Linked DNA regions of Homo sapiens: regions 2, 3 and 4 are each linked to region 1. The links are contacts of gene promoters, found by promoter capture Hi-C in blood cells and fetal thymus (Javierre and others, 2016). All regions are on one chromosome and are shown on one strand. The core of a region is centred on a gene start or on the middle of the fragment in contact, and the rest is flanking DNA. Distances in the headings are between cores, read along the strand shown.

Region 1 (3,711 bases), core at 667-3,166:
GCCATTTCATTTTTACAATAGATTTATCACACACTGTATTGACTTTTTCCAGTATAGAGTAAGAGAAAGTTAATATTCCTCATGTTTTGTCTGTTGACAGACTGAAAATAATTGCATTGAGTTTGGCTAGAATATCCTGTCATTCCATAAACATCTCAAACTCCACATGGCTAAAACTTAACCCATCCATGCCCCCATCTGCATGCACACATACATGCATATAACTTCATTTCTCAGTGTTTTTTTCTCCATGAATGGTAGCACCATTCTCTTTCAAGAAAGAGAAATACTTCCCCTTGGGATTATCCTATCTCTACTTATTGCTGCAGGGGCTTCCAAAATTAGGTTTTCTGTGTTCAGTCTTGCATTCACACTTCTGAAACCCAGAGCTGACCGAGACAAATTCTTCAACTTCCTGTCAGTCCCAACATAGATTTAAAATTCCTAACCTGGCTCATGAGGTTCACCATGTATTCCTGCTTCCCTAAGTCAGCCTCATATCACACCAACCTGTGTGTGGAGTGGCTAAATACTCTAGCCAGGCAAGCTCTCTCAGTTCTTCTACCTGGCTCCTCTGGAGCCCTCCTTATTGCTCATCCCATTCTTAGCCTGATTCAAGATTCCTGGTCCTTCAAATCTCTCTTTAAGTGTCCTTACCTGGATCTTTCTCTAGTTAGTACAAATTTTTCTATCTACCATTGGAGCGAACATTTTTTGAAACTTTGTATCAGTCCTGCCTTACTCTTGGTGGAATCCTGTGGTCCTAGTCAAGTGCCTGCTCCATGAATGTGCTGAATAAATGAATAAGCATTTTAATTGTGTATCTGTCATTAGTGTCAGATGTGTTATTTATTCCAGCATGGTTTTAGCACACAGACACACTCTTTGATGCAGACTTTTCTTTTCTTTTTACATATAGCAACAATAAAAAACTAGACTTTCATCTCCTGAAAATATCAGTCTAATAATCACCTATGGCTGTCTCTCTGGTTGCTGAAGGAAAAAAAAAAAAAAGGCAGGGCACACCTGGATTGCATTAGAATGAGACTCACTACCCAGTTCAGGTGTGTTGCGTTGTGGGTCTCCGGCACATTTCAGAGGCTCATTAGGACCCTGACCCCACACTGGGGTTTACACCCCTAAAAGCAGGTGTGTCCCGTGGCAACTGAGTGGGTGCGTGAAAAGGGGGGATCATCAATTACCAGCTGGAGCAATCCGAATCGGTTAAAGTGAATCAAGTCACAGTGCTTCCTTAACCCAACCTCTCTGTTGGGGTCAGCCACAGCCTAAACCGCCTGCCGTTCAGCCTGAGAGGCTGCTGCTAGCCTGCTCACGCATGCAGCCCGGGCTGCAGAGGAAGTGTGGGGAGGAAGGAAGTGGGTATAGAAGGGTGCTGAGATGTGGGTCTTGAAGAGAATAGCCATAACGTCTTTGTCACTAAAATGTTCCCCAGGGGCCTTCGGCGAGTCTTTTTGTTTGGTTTTTTGTTTTTAATCTGTGGCTCTTGATAATTTATCTAGTGGTTGCCTACACCTGAAAAACAAGACACAGTGTTTAACTATCAACGAAAGAACTGGACGGCTCCCCGCCGCAGTCCCACTCCCCGAGTTTGTGGCTGGCATTTGGGCCACGCCGGGCTGGGCGGTCACAGCGAGGGGCGCGCAGTTTGGGGTCACACAGCTCCGCTTCTAGGCCCCAACCACCGTTAAAAGGGGAAGCCCGTGCCCCATCAGGTCCGCTCTTGCTGAGCCCAGAGCCATCCCGCGCTCTGCGGGCTGGGAGGCCCGGGCCAGGACGCGAGTCCTGCGCAGCCGAGGTTCCCCAGCGCCCCCTGCAGCCGCGCGTAGGCAGAGACGGAGCCCGGCCCTGCGCCTCCGCACCACGCCCGGGACCCCACCCAGCGGCCCGTACCCGGAGAAGCAGCGCGAGCACCCGAAGCTCCCGGCTGGCGGCAGAAACCGGGAGTGGGGCCGGGCGAGTGCGCGGCATCCCAGGCCGGCCCGAACGCTCCGCCCGCGGTGGGCCGACTTCCCCTCCTCTTCCCTCTCTCCTTCCTTTAGCCCGCTGGCGCCGGACACGCTGCGCCTCATCTCTTGGGGCGTTCTTCCCCGTTGGCCAACCGTCGCATCCCGTGCAACTTTGGGGTAGTGGCCGTTTAGTGTTGAATGTTCCCCACCGAGAGCGCATGGCTTGGGAAGCGAGGCGCGAACCCGGCCCCCGAAGGGCCGCCGTCCGGGAGACGGTGATGCTGTTGCTGTGCCTGGGGGTCCCGACCGGCCGCCCCTACAACGTGGACACTGAGAGCGCGCTGCTTTACCAGGGCCCCCACAACACGCTGTTCGGCTACTCGGTCGTGCTGCACAGCCACGGGGCGAACCGATGGTGAGTAGAGTTGGACTGATGCGCCCTCAGCAGCTCAGAGCGGCGTGAGAATGGCGCCCTAGGGATTCCCTGCCCGATTCAAACTTTCCTCCCTCCCAAGGAGGCAGGAGGGAAACGCTGCGAGAGCCAGCTCGCTGGAAATCTGCCAGGGAAACTAACTTATCTTGGGGCGGCAGCGCCCCGGGTGCGTTATGGTGCAAGGTCTTGGAGCTTCGAGTCGGGGGTGGTGGGCGGAGGAGGAGGTGGGGAAGCTGCCCTGCTGCGGACTGCACATCTGTGGCGACAGGGAGCTCAGTGGGCAGCACAGCTCACGTCTGAGCGCACGTGCACGTGTCTCGCTTTAGGCTCCTAGTGGGTGCGCCCACTGCCAACTGGCTCGCCAACGCTTCAGTGATCAATCCCGGGGCGATTTACAGATGCAGGATCGGAAAGAATCCCGGCCAGACGTGCGAACAGCTCCAGCTGGGTGAGTTGGGTATGGGACCAGGAGTTAGTGACCTCCCGACCCCCCATGTGGACCCCACCATAGGGCAAGTCCTGGAAAGATTCACGTTGCCTGTTACTTCTGGTTTAAAGAGCATAAAGTTTTCAGTTTCAACTCCATCTCATCTTGCCTCCTTAATATAAAAGGGATTCCCTTTCTGTTAATATCGTTCTCCCTTTTCCTTATGGCAATGATTGCAGTACTCTGACAACTATGCTAGAGAAATTTCTTATGATACCTTCTCTTCATCTCTCCCCGTCTCTCCGTGTGTAAAGCACATTTTAGACTCTCTCAGCGTATTAAGGACAGGATCCAGCTAAGCCAAGACTTGAGAATTTTATTTCCATCTTTGACCTATCAACCCTCTTAAAGAACAGGCTAAGGAGCATATCAGGAATAGCAATTGGAATTGATCCCATATCCCGTCGTTTAACCTAAAGGCCTAAAAAAAAAAGTGATAGTTTTACTTACAATATACAATCTAAAAGAAAAGGAAAATTGGCATCTTCATCGTTAATGTAGTATAATTTTCCATTCCCAAAACCGTCATCCAAAACTCATGTTATATGGGTCCATCTTTTTGCAGTCATTTCTCAATGTCTCAGATTTGTGACAAGTTGAAAAATGTGTACTGATAGAGGGGAGAAGTTTCATGTTTCAAAGCCAAAGACAAGTTTGTTGCACACAGGCAAGTGGGGAAAGAGGAAGGAATATTAAATAACAAGACCTATCTTGTTCCAAAGTGTTACTGCTATATATATTGCTTAACTTTTTTCCCCTTAAAGCAACCCTGGGTCATGGTTGACATTGTTCCTAGTTTATGTATGAGGACTGTGGCTCAGAGT
Region 2 (3,711 bases), core at 631-3,130, 920 kb before region 1:
ACTAAGAGGGAGAAAAAATCAGTATGTTATCTGTGAAAAAATTCTTCAACCACAAAGTAGGAGAATATGGCAAGCAAAAGACAGTTAAAACACACAGTTGTATAGCATTAGAAGATATACCAAATGTAAATGACGAGTTAATGGGGGCAGCACACCAACATGGTACATGTATACATATGTAACAAACCTGCACGTTGTGCACATGTACCCTAGAACTTAAATTATAATAAAATATATATATATATATATATATATATATATAAATTTAAGAAAACACAGTTGGAAAAAAATTTCCCCAAGATATTGAAGAATATTTTATATTCAATGCTTCATAAAGAAAAGAGAACAAAATCAATACTGCAGAAAACCAGAGGAAAAAGAAAAACAAATGAAATAGCACAAATAGTTTTTAAAAAGGTAGACAAAGAAATAAGAGCAAAGAGTGAGAAGATGCCAGTTATGAAAATAATAATGGAGGTTCAGAAGCATAATTGGTATGCTTCATGAAGAAAATAGGACAAAAAAAGAAATAAAAATATTCAAACATATAATAGAACAGAAATTTTGTGAAATTTTAAAAAGAAGCATGGGTTTTCAGATATAAAGGGCAAACTGTATCCCGAAGATAATTTCTGTTGAAGCCCACATCCAAAGAACATAGGGGAATACCTATTGATCATGCAAGACCCAGTCTCTGAAATAGATGTGTAAGGGAGGGCACCACCTTGACACAGTCTCCAATGTAAAATGTTAAGAAAAGATACTTAGAGGATTTTGTAGGCTAGGGTACATCCTAAGATTATTTTAGGGCATAAGATCGTAAGCAAGATCTGAATAGGGAGTGAACAAAATTCATGAACTAGGCCGGACTAGTTGCTGGACTGTCAGCTGTCCAATCTCCAGAACACGTTGAGTGTGGCATTATTACTGCCAGTTCAGTTTGAGGTCTTCTCTTGCAGCCTGTGAGTCTGAGTGAGATTATAATAAAACCACTGAAGCTTAGTTTGTGTTGCATATCAACATTTGGTTCATTGAATCTGTCTTGAACATCACAGTGTTTTCCATTTCATTTATCTTTATAAAGGAAAAAGATCCACATTAGGATACAAACTAATGACTTTTTCTTATTCAAATATTTTATTAAGGAAAGGAGCTTGAATGCATCTGTAAAGAAGAAATATGTCACCTACAAAGTGGGAAAAGGTACAATAATCTTGGAATATTAGATGCCAATATAAGTGGAGCAGTGTGTAATTATTTGGAAAGAGAATAAAAGTATAATTCAATAACTTCTATGCCCAGTCAAGTTATCATTCATGAGATTAAGTTCGCGAGCCAAGACAACAAAAAGACATTTTAAATATACAACCATTTATGAATTATACAACTCAAGCATGCTTCCTAAAAGTGGTTGTGTCTTATATTCCAAACAATTGAAAAATAAACAAAAATAAAGAACTCGTATAGGGAAGTTATGAAATGATAGGAGAAGAAACACCTGTTTTGCAAGACAGAGACAGAGAGAAACAGAGAACTCCTAATGTTCTTTGTTGAGGCCAGAAAGGACTAACAGGAGCTACTTAAGCAATTAACATTCACTTATTGAAAGACAACTAGAACCTGTTCTAGGAACACAGGATGAAAAAAAATAATCTTCCTGAAAAGTTCATTTAGTCCCCTAAAGTCATAGTATCTGATTATGAAATTATAACATTCAATTCATGAAACATCTCCCCGGTGGCAAATGACTGTTTTTACATCTTGTAGTAAACAGACAAAAGCAATGAAATTTGATGTCCTCAGACACCCTGCTGGCTTTACGCTTATGTAAAGTCCGCATTTGTGTTCTCTGGCAGCTGTATTTCTTGCTTGAAAGACATGGCTCCTGTCGGCTTGACTTAGTTTCTTCCATCTCTCCTTGAAGTGTGAGTGGTACAAACCAGTGAAAAAGGGGACATACTAGAAAGTTCTCAAGTGTGAAATTGAACCCTTAGCCAAACACTAAAAATACTCTTTGTGGCTCAGCAAAAGTTCCATTATCTTTTGTTTATTTCTGGGTGCCACAGTTCTTCTTGATTATATCTAGCCCCAGCTGTGGAAGTAATAGAAATGTCTTGTGAATCAATTAGTACATGGGGAAGCTGTTGAACTATAAAAAAAAGTTATAAGCACCTGAGCTTGAGAATGTTTATCTCATATGTACCTTAAATTATAGAAATTCAACCATCCTTATTGCAGATAGCTTGATTCCTAAGAACTTTTAAAAGTTAGGCATCAGAACAAATGAACTGAGACTCTGTTATTATTTTGTTCTTCGCAAAACTAATTTTCCATGGAATGGCATAAGAAAAGCAGTTGAAAGGGGCTCTTTTTTATTTAGAAAAACCTTGTTGGTGCATTTGTGCAATCAGTTTTTAATCCATTCCATCCAGTACTATTTCTCTCTTTGTAATCGCTGATCTTTAATATTGAAAACTATGATCATTATTTTTAATATGGTCTTTCTAAGGTGGAATAAATTATACAGGCAAATCATCTGAGAAAGTACCTAGCACAGCTCTTGACACATGGTTTATTGGTTTATTTTTAAAAATTTTGTTCAACTTAACATATTTTTGAGCAATATTGTGTCTCACATAGCTACTGTTCCTCTTTACTATAGATTGCTCAACACCAACAACTTACAACCTCAATAAAAATAGAGTACTTCACATATCAAAAAAAGGAAGTTCCACTTTAGGGCAACTTACAGTTGGACAATGAAAGCTTAACTCTTTTTCAAGCAGTCATAATTTTTGTAAGCATTGATGTATAATAGAAATGTTAATATATATAAAAAATGAAACCTCAGCTGGTAGAAATGAAGAATATAAATTAGTTATGATTGATAATGTTCATCTGCTTTTTCTGAGATATGATCCATTCTCCCATATGCCATATGACCCTATTATAGGATACCAGGTATACACACATACACACACACACACACACAACTATGTAAACGATATAAACAACTGTTTGCTCAGGGTGATATACAATACCCAGCACACTGTTGGCCTTCATAAATATTAACCAATAATAATTCACATGTCGCCTCACTTAAAAAGTAAATACTACCTCATTTTAAAAGATCTTAGTTTTCATCTGTGTTTGGGACCATATCCTGAATGTGTAGTGCTATATTTTAATGATTTACTTTATGGTGTCAGTTTAATAAATGAGTTAATTGTCTAGACTTCCAGTGTCACATCAGAGCAGTGGTGAAAAAGCAAGCTTTCCTATTCAGCAGTCAGTGTAACAAGGGAAATTATACAGGTAGGAATACCAGGAGAGCAGCATGTTACACTGCTCCAGAAAATAAGTTTGCTGCTTCTTATTTTTCTCCTGATGTTGACCCCTACTCTTGGAAAATGTGTAAAGTGTAGATAGACCTGACCTCCTTCCTTCCCTCGCTCCATGGTATCCAGCTTGAAAAAACAAAAATTAAAAATGTGATCTCATTCTAATCAAAGAGATTATCGTGCTACATTTCAAATGGCTTTACATCAGCCTTCAGTAGCCATAGGCTGCTCAGGCATTTATCACAGGTGTTTCGAACTGTTTTTTTTTTTTCCTTTTATTGTAAGAACACATTCATACTGGTGACACATCCCCATGTGCAATTCTTGGTGTGTTAGTTTACCTCATACTTGCCCTCTCTCAAAGATACGT
Region 3 (3,711 bases), core at 319-2,818, 670 kb after region 1:
GCTGTGCTTCTACTCGAGCTTGGAAAAATCCCAACACAAAACAAACACCACCTCCGATTCCATCATGATGCCACGTTGCTTTCTACTGGATTACCTCCTGAAGCACTTTAGATATTTTATACATAAGTATTGACATGTTTTTCAGAAGCTGTTTCTTCACTTATTGCTTTTTTCTAATAATTTTTATTACACCATTTGCCAAGTCCTTCCCTTTGGTTTTAGTTTATTCCTCTCTACAACTAAAAAAGGGATCTTGAGTTTAGGTACATTTTAAGTGATTCATTTTTAGTTTTTCTAATTCTGGAATCTGAGCCTTCTCTTACAACAGGGAGTCTTTCAAAAACATTTTTTTGTTTCTTTTTCAAATTCCACTGTGTTTATTTATTGCCTTGTTTCTTTTTCAAATTCCATTGGTCTTGATTTAATTTAGTTCCACAGATTTTACTGATAGTCTACTACCTGCCAACTACTGAATTATGCAGCAGACTTATAAAAATAAAAAGGCTATTTTATTGTTATTGCCATCCTGCTAGTAAAGATTTATTCAATTATTTATAATTAATTAAGTGGCTTCACCTATATTTCTGTTAATAATCACATTAATTATGTATGACAGGTAGGATTTATGTTATAGATAAGAAAACTAGAGTCCAAAGAAAATAAGTGTCCCCAAATGAACCAATAATCCAACAAACGCTTCCACTAACTAGCTTCTGACCTGTTTGAGTTGTGATAGATTTTAGAATAAAAAAGCCTATCCTCCTTAGGAGCCATAGACTTTTATTCTTTCTTATACTGTCTTATATATTGACTTAGAGCTAAACTTCCTCCAATTCAGACATAAAGCATAGGCAGATACTTTTGCTAATGAGGCTAAGCTGGGAAGAAAACCCTGAGTTCTACTTTAATTCTTGGGCATTGACTTCAAACTAAGATGACTTATAAGAAATAAAAGAAGTAAATTTGAAACTTTAATAAAAAAAGTACATGGTTCATTTAAAAATGTTTCCTATGTCTAAATCTATATTTTAAAAATAACCTTTATCATGTAAAATGAGAGAATTGCTGAGTTTATGACAATCTTAGGTATAACCTTTTCTTAAAGAACAAGGCATCAATCTTTAATTTGTTTCCCTTTCTTGATTTCTCATAAGTTGCAAAATAAAAATAAAAATAATTTCACAAATTGTTCATTATTATTATCCTCCCTACTTGCCCCAGGATTTAAGTACTAACTTTTACTTCCTACTCTTAGACTTTGTATTGCCAAAGAAATAAAATATGAAAAAGCATAATCACCCAGACCTACCTGCGGAATTGTGGATTATGCTGTAGATATTAGATCATTGAAAGGAACAATATACTACTTAATGAGGAGCCAAAGACAACATTCTACCTGCTGCTCCCTTCAAGCTGAGGAATGAGTTTAATTGACTTCAAAGTCCCATTATTCTCAAAAGTAGCAAAGGTACAACATGGCTTTGCATGAATCAAAGGAAGGGAACAACAAGAACTTAAAAAAATAGTTTGCAGATGGTTGAACATCTCTTTAATAATTAGAGAAGAATATCTTTTCTTTCTTTATTGTTTACAGATACCAACATTTTTCAAAGCCTTGCAGTAGATGAGTGAGTCTCCTGTTACATTTCTCCTGCAGCATATATTCTGTGGATGTGTTTTCCTAAGCAGACTAATTATATGTTGCTCTCTTCTTTTACCCTAATGAAACATAGATTTTTCTGTTTTGAATTTGTCACTTGTTTGTTACATTTGTCAAGTGTTTTAAATATTACATTGGTCCTTTATTTGCTTTTGAGAACACCCAATAGTTTAAAAATTAAAATGACATGAAGGTCAATTCTAAGACAGGAATGATACTACTAAATCCTGGACTTGCCTATGATAACAAGCTCGAGCTACACACTTTTATTGTCAGAATAAATGGAATATATAGGAAGGAGTTAATTGGAACTGGTTAGTACCTAAATAAGATTTTTCAAAGTAAGTTTTTTGTCGTATTGGCAGAACAGTGTTAAAAAATAGACATTGTCATCATAAACACCCACAACTATATCTGTAGAAGATAATTTAATGCAATATTCTGGGGAAAATACAGTTGCCAAAATTAATCTCCTTGTTTTCTTTCATTGTGCAATGTGGAGTTAAATTTTTTTTCTATTGAGCAGTGTGTGTGTGTGTTTGTGTCTATAATTTATATATGTGCTTGTATACATTTCTATATACACATGTATGTGTATGCAAAATATGTATATATACACATATATATAAAATGTACACTAAATATGTATATATGTATATTCATAAAATGTTTTGCTGTATGGAAATAAAAAAGAAGGTTTCTAAAGGAAAGATAGAGAAGAAATTTAACCTGATTTCTATTAAATTAAGCACAGAGAAATAAAACTTTACTAAAGGGCCAGGTGCAGTGGCTCAAGCCTGTAATCCCAGCACTTTGTGAGGCCAAGGCTGGCAGATCACTTGAGGTCAGGTGTTTGAGAATAGCCTGGCCACATGGTGAAACCCTGTCTCTACTAAAAACACAAAAATTAGCCGGGCATGGTGGCATGTGCCTTTAGTCCCAGCTACTCAGGAGGCTGAGGCAGGAGAATTATTAGTCCCCAGGGTGGCTAGCAGGGCCTAGGGAAGCTGGAGATCCTGGGGTGACTGTCCCTGGCAGAGCTGGAGGTTGCAGTCACTGTCCCTGGAGTTGGAGGTTGCAGTGAGCCGATATCGCGCCACTGCACTCCAGCCTGGGTGACAGAGCGAGACTCCATCTCAAAACAAAACAAAACAAAAACAGAAAAACACTTTACTAAACAAATACCTCCCAAAGTTATAATTTCCATATTCTTGTCTGTTAGGGAGAAGCCAGGTGAGAACAGAGGAGGACATCCAGAGTAAACTGGACACAGTAACAGAGGTGAGGAGGTCCTCACAAAGGGTGCCTCCGGTGAAAAGAGAAAGATAGCCAGAGGGAGAGGACCCGAGGGAGGGCAAGGCCAGCTCCTTCCCTCTCCCTCTCTGGCCACACAACTTATTCTTAGCAGCTTCCTGTCCACTGCTGCTAAGTCATTTCCACATGAACGCGTCTTTTGCACCATGGCTATTTTCCTTTTGCCCCCATTTCTGTCTGAGGAAAGGTTTGATGGTGATTTCAGTGTTGACACACTCGACTTTTAGACTGCAGCTGACTTACCATGCTTGTTGAATGAGTCTGTTCCTCTCACATGGACAGTTTCCACTTATGAAAAGTCCCTTCCTTTTTCATTTCCTCTGCAGAAAGCTTGTTTTGCTAATGAGGAGTCCATGAAATTGGGGGAGTTTGCTGCTGTGTGTGTGTGTGTGTGTGTGTTTGTGTGTGTGTGTGTATGTGTATGTGTACATAGTTTTCCTCTTTGAGAAATTGCTATTGTTGCTTCTCAGTGCACCTGGATGTCTGAAGATATTTTTTATTTAACGAGCTGTCTAGGAAATACAAAGGTTACTGTTATTTTATCTTTATGTTGATATTTTTCTGTTTAATATTTGCATTAAAATTGTTCCCCCAAATAGAATATCTACATGATATAGCAACCAGTGAACAAATCAACATATCTACCTACACATATATATATAAATCTATATATTAATCTCTCTCTGTATCTAATTAATATATATGTATAATTTAGCCTTCCTCTCAAGCAAGGACAT
Region 4 (3,711 bases), core at 649-3,148, 620 kb after region 1:
AGGTTAGGTCATTCTTTATTATCAGGTAATAAAAAATAATAGAGGAAGTATAAGCAGTGGCTAAGTGCAAAAATCTGAAGCCTGAGAATCTCAGTTTGAATTCTAGTTCCATTTAACTGTCTGACCTTGAGAGAGTGGGTTGGATGCCTCATCTGTGCTTCATTTTCTTTGCTTCTAAAATGGAGGTAATAAAAGTGTGCACTTTGTATCAGTTTTCAAGGACTGCCTTAATAGATTCCCACAAACTTGGTACTTAACACAAAAGAAATGTTTCCTCTCACAGTTGGTGAAGCTAGATGTCTAAAAACCAAGGTATCAGTAGGGCCATGCTCCCACTGAAGGCTGTAGGGAAGATTCCTTCCTTGCCTCTTCCAGTTTCTGGTGGCCCCAGGTGTTCTTCAGCAAGTCCTCAGGTGTTTCTGGGAGTGGAACTCGTTTCTGTCTCACTCTTCCCGTGGCCTGCTCTTCTGTGTCTCTGTGTGTTGTTTCCTCTTCTTGTAAGTACATCAGTTATTGGATTTAGAATATTGGCTACTTCATCCTGTCGAGCCTCATTTTAATTACATCTGCAAAGGCCTTATTTTCAAATAAGGTCACATTCTGATGTTCCAAGTGGACATGAATTTTTGGAGGACACTATTCAACCCAATACATACCTCACTGGTTTTGAGGATTAAATAGGTTGCTATACATAAAGCACTAGAACAATGCCTGTTGCAGAAGTTTTAGTTAAGGTGACTTCTAAAATGCCATGCATAGTTCAAGCCATTTCCAGTTTCACCTAAGTTACAGATTTCCCATTGCATATCTTCTCGACAGCACATCCCCCAATAGTCTGCTCTATCTTAAACTTAAGCCATCTAAAACTGCCTTTATGTTCATCCCCAAACGAAAACCAGGGGATCCTCCAATTCCTGTAAATGGTATCACTATCCCCCATTTGCTCAGATTCAAAGCCTCAACATCATTTATAACGACTTCGTCTTCTTTGTTGCCATAACTAATCAACCTTTTGGTCCTGTAGAGTGGATCTTGAGAGAAGTTCACTTGTTATATTCTCATTTCTCCTTTTCCAGGTCAGGCTTTCTTTAACATTCACCCAGATAAAAAGCAGAGTAATACCGTAACACAATACATCACGTAATACACATTCACACATATTTCAGATAGAAACAGAACTATATTTCCTCTAATTCAGACTATATGTCTATTTAATGACAATGAGAAATATGAAATATCCAGTAAGTTGGCCTTATTTAGTGGCCCTGCATACAAGCTGACTCATTGCAGAAAAGGAGAAGCTTTAAGGGGAAAAAAAAAGGAAAATATTAACTGCTTCTAACCCACAACATTTAAATAAAGCCATTTTAATATGCATTGATTATGTTCAGCCATTTTATAGCTCTGGCCTCAGTTTTCTTATTGGTAAAATATGACCTTGAGAAAGTTATTTAAATTCCCTAATCATAAAGGTACATACTCATAAGGTTTTCGTAAAAATGAAATGAAAAAACTGTATGTAAAATGCTTCAGCATAGTACTATGCCCCTCATCCATGGTCAAGAAATACTAGTCATTAGATATAATTTTAGCATCATATTGACATAAACTCTTTAAAACTCTTACACTTATTTGGTTGCTACTTCATTTGATGATTAACTTCATTTAAAGCATATTTCCAGGTTTGATTGCATTTTAACAAGAGAGTGAGGTTTGTGCTCAGTGTGTGCAGTTGTTGGGAAGAATTTGGTTTCTACATCTTTAGCTGCTATTGGGCAAATGGAGAGGTAAGTAGTATACTCTTTCTGAGCATAGTGCCAACTGGTGTCCATATTTATACAAAAGGGGGTTAAAGGGAACGAGAAAAAGCACACAGTAAGCATTCAACAAATAGCGGCTATCAGTATTGTATAATTTTTTTTCAAGTTTCAGTTTCCGGGTGAATACAAATGAGTGCCTTAACCTCTTTTCAGTCTTCTTTCAAAGAGAAGATTCAATACATTGCAGTTGCAGTAGTTATAGAAAGTAGCTAAACAGAGAAGAGTAGAAAATTGTGATAGAAAATTTGAAATCCTTATATTTCTTTTGCTAGATTAATCAACATATATTCAGCACCTATTGAGTGTTGATTCTGAAAAGCATTGATCAGATAAAAGTGATCATTTAGTAAAGCAAATGAGAGAAACTTAATTCTAAAATACAGCTATCAGAGTTAACTTACAAATGAACTTCGATAACTTCTGGATGCATTTTGTAAAAAAAAAGTATTGTGTCATATTAAAATATGTCATAATAAAAACTCCTGCACTTAGCAGGAATTACATTAACTATGTCTAATGTGTGCGGTTGAAAAGCCACTTCAACCACTCATCACGTACACCTCATATCCTGCCTGCATAAAAGGCTGTGCCCATTTCACTATGGATATAGATTTGTTTATCCTGCATATTACCAATTCCGTATGTCCACATAAAAAGTCATAAATATCAGGGAGAAAAGCTTCATGTGCAGAAACTTTGTAGTTAATGGGAAAGCAAATACCAAGTTCTGACTACATACCTCCCTATGCCTATTTTTTTTAAAAAAAGGTCTTTTTTATTCCTGAAGCTTAAAGAAATAAACAAAAGCTATTACTTTGACAAAGCAGACACCAACATAATGAGATTTGAGCAGGATTCTGTATTTCCCTTTATCTACCACTCTGTTTTCCATAAGGGGACACAAAGACATTTTTTACACTTAATCTTGTGAGCTAGTTAGGAATTCTCACTTCACCCATGCAAAGAATAGAAACAAACTCATAAAGCAACAGATGAATGCATGCATGTGAAATTGGAAGTCATTTGCATTTAAAGTGATAGAACTTAGGTAAACAGAGGGGATGCATTTAGGATAATATTTTCTTTCAGGACTCAAAGTTCTCAAAAGAAAATATCTCACCTGGTTTTCAAGCAGGTTTCAAATTATGTTTGACAAACATGGGACATCGTCTCTAAAGCATGTGTGCACGTGTCTGGCATAAAATCAAGGGTGGAAAGTTACCCTGAAGGTCAAACGGACAAGGTTTTCTGAGTTTCTGCTTGGCCTGGTAAGACAGCCTTGGTCATGGAGGAGGCCTGATTCTGAAGACTGGGTCAATTCTGTCACTTGCATTTGTTTACTGCCCTGCCTTCGCTGGCTCTGCATCTGAGTCGCGGAAGAACATAGACTCAATAAGTACTGAATATATGTTGATTATTCCAGCAATAGAAATATAAGAATTTCAAGATTGATCTATTTTAACAAAAGCACTGTTAAACATTGAAGACCTAAGTAATATTACTAGAGGATCTCTCTGATCAACTATAACATACAGGCAGAAAGGGCATCCTTTCCTGTGTTGCCCCAGACCACCCTTTGACTTGGTCACAGAAGGATTCCAGTTAGCAATGCTTTATGGAGCAAAAAGGTACCTGTTGGGAAGCTGCAACACTTGGTGGAGTCTAATAATACCCAGCGGGAGACCACGGTACCCGGTGGGATAGAATCAACACAGCCCAACTGGAATACAGATATTTGGGAACACTGTTAGATATGTATACTCAGAAAAGCCTTGGAACATGACCAGAGCATAATAGATTCTTAAAGGGGCCTTAGGTGAGTCCTAGAGTCAAAAAGAAGTTTGAGGTATTTGTGATATTAGAATCTCATAAATTCTCCAGGCTGCTAAAG

The links. Contacts are between HindIII fragments. The CHiCAGO score rates a contact against its expected background, and 5 or more counts as called.
Region 2: a contact is called between a fragment that was not itself captured here and the fragment with the promoter of ITGA4 in region 1, in 4 of 17 cell types (M2 macrophages, M1 macrophages, monocytes and 1 more). The highest score is 8.8, in M2 macrophages.
Region 3: a contact is called between a fragment that was not itself captured here and the fragment with the promoter of ITGA4 in region 1, in 1 of 17 cell types (megakaryocytes). The highest score is 5.1, in megakaryocytes.
Region 4: a fragment that was not itself captured here is called in contact with the fragment with the promoter of ITGA4 in region 1 in 1 of 17 cell types (fetal thymus); the score reaches 5.4 in fetal thymus.

What each region holds. Positions count from the first base shown.
Region 1 is chr2:181,455,470-181,459,180 of GRCh38, forward strand. It overlaps ITGA4 (integrin subunit alpha 4), which reads left to right and starts at 1,917. Exons shown (of 28, transcript NM_000885.6): 1 at 1,917-2,382; 2 at 2,727-2,848. The coding sequence starts at 2,186. RefSeq lists enhancers at 1,424-1,533, 2,254-2,443, 2,504-2,553, 2,914-2,963 and a silencer at 1,714-2,103. The HindIII fragment of the contact is 9,740 bases long and covers 1-3,711 here.
Region 2 is chr2:180,537,073-180,540,783 of GRCh38, forward strand. No RefSeq gene overlaps it. Among named protein-coding and RNA genes, the nearest start is that of SCHLAP1, 150 kb to the right of the region's middle. The HindIII fragment of the contact is 1,768 bases long and covers 997-2,764 here.
Region 3 is chr2:182,129,016-182,132,726 of GRCh38, forward strand. It overlaps a transcript of PPP1R1C not described here. Among named protein-coding and RNA genes, the nearest start is that of PPP1R1C, 150 kb to the left of the region's middle. The HindIII fragment of the contact is 3,467 bases long and covers 1-3,302 here.
Region 4 is chr2:182,079,414-182,083,124 of GRCh38, forward strand. The region is part of intron 4 of PPP1R1C (protein phosphatase 1 regulatory inhibitor subunit 1C); the gene reads left to right. Among named protein-coding and RNA genes, the nearest start is that of PPP1R1C, 95 kb to the left of the region's middle. The HindIII fragment of the contact is 1,198 bases long and covers 1,300-2,497 here.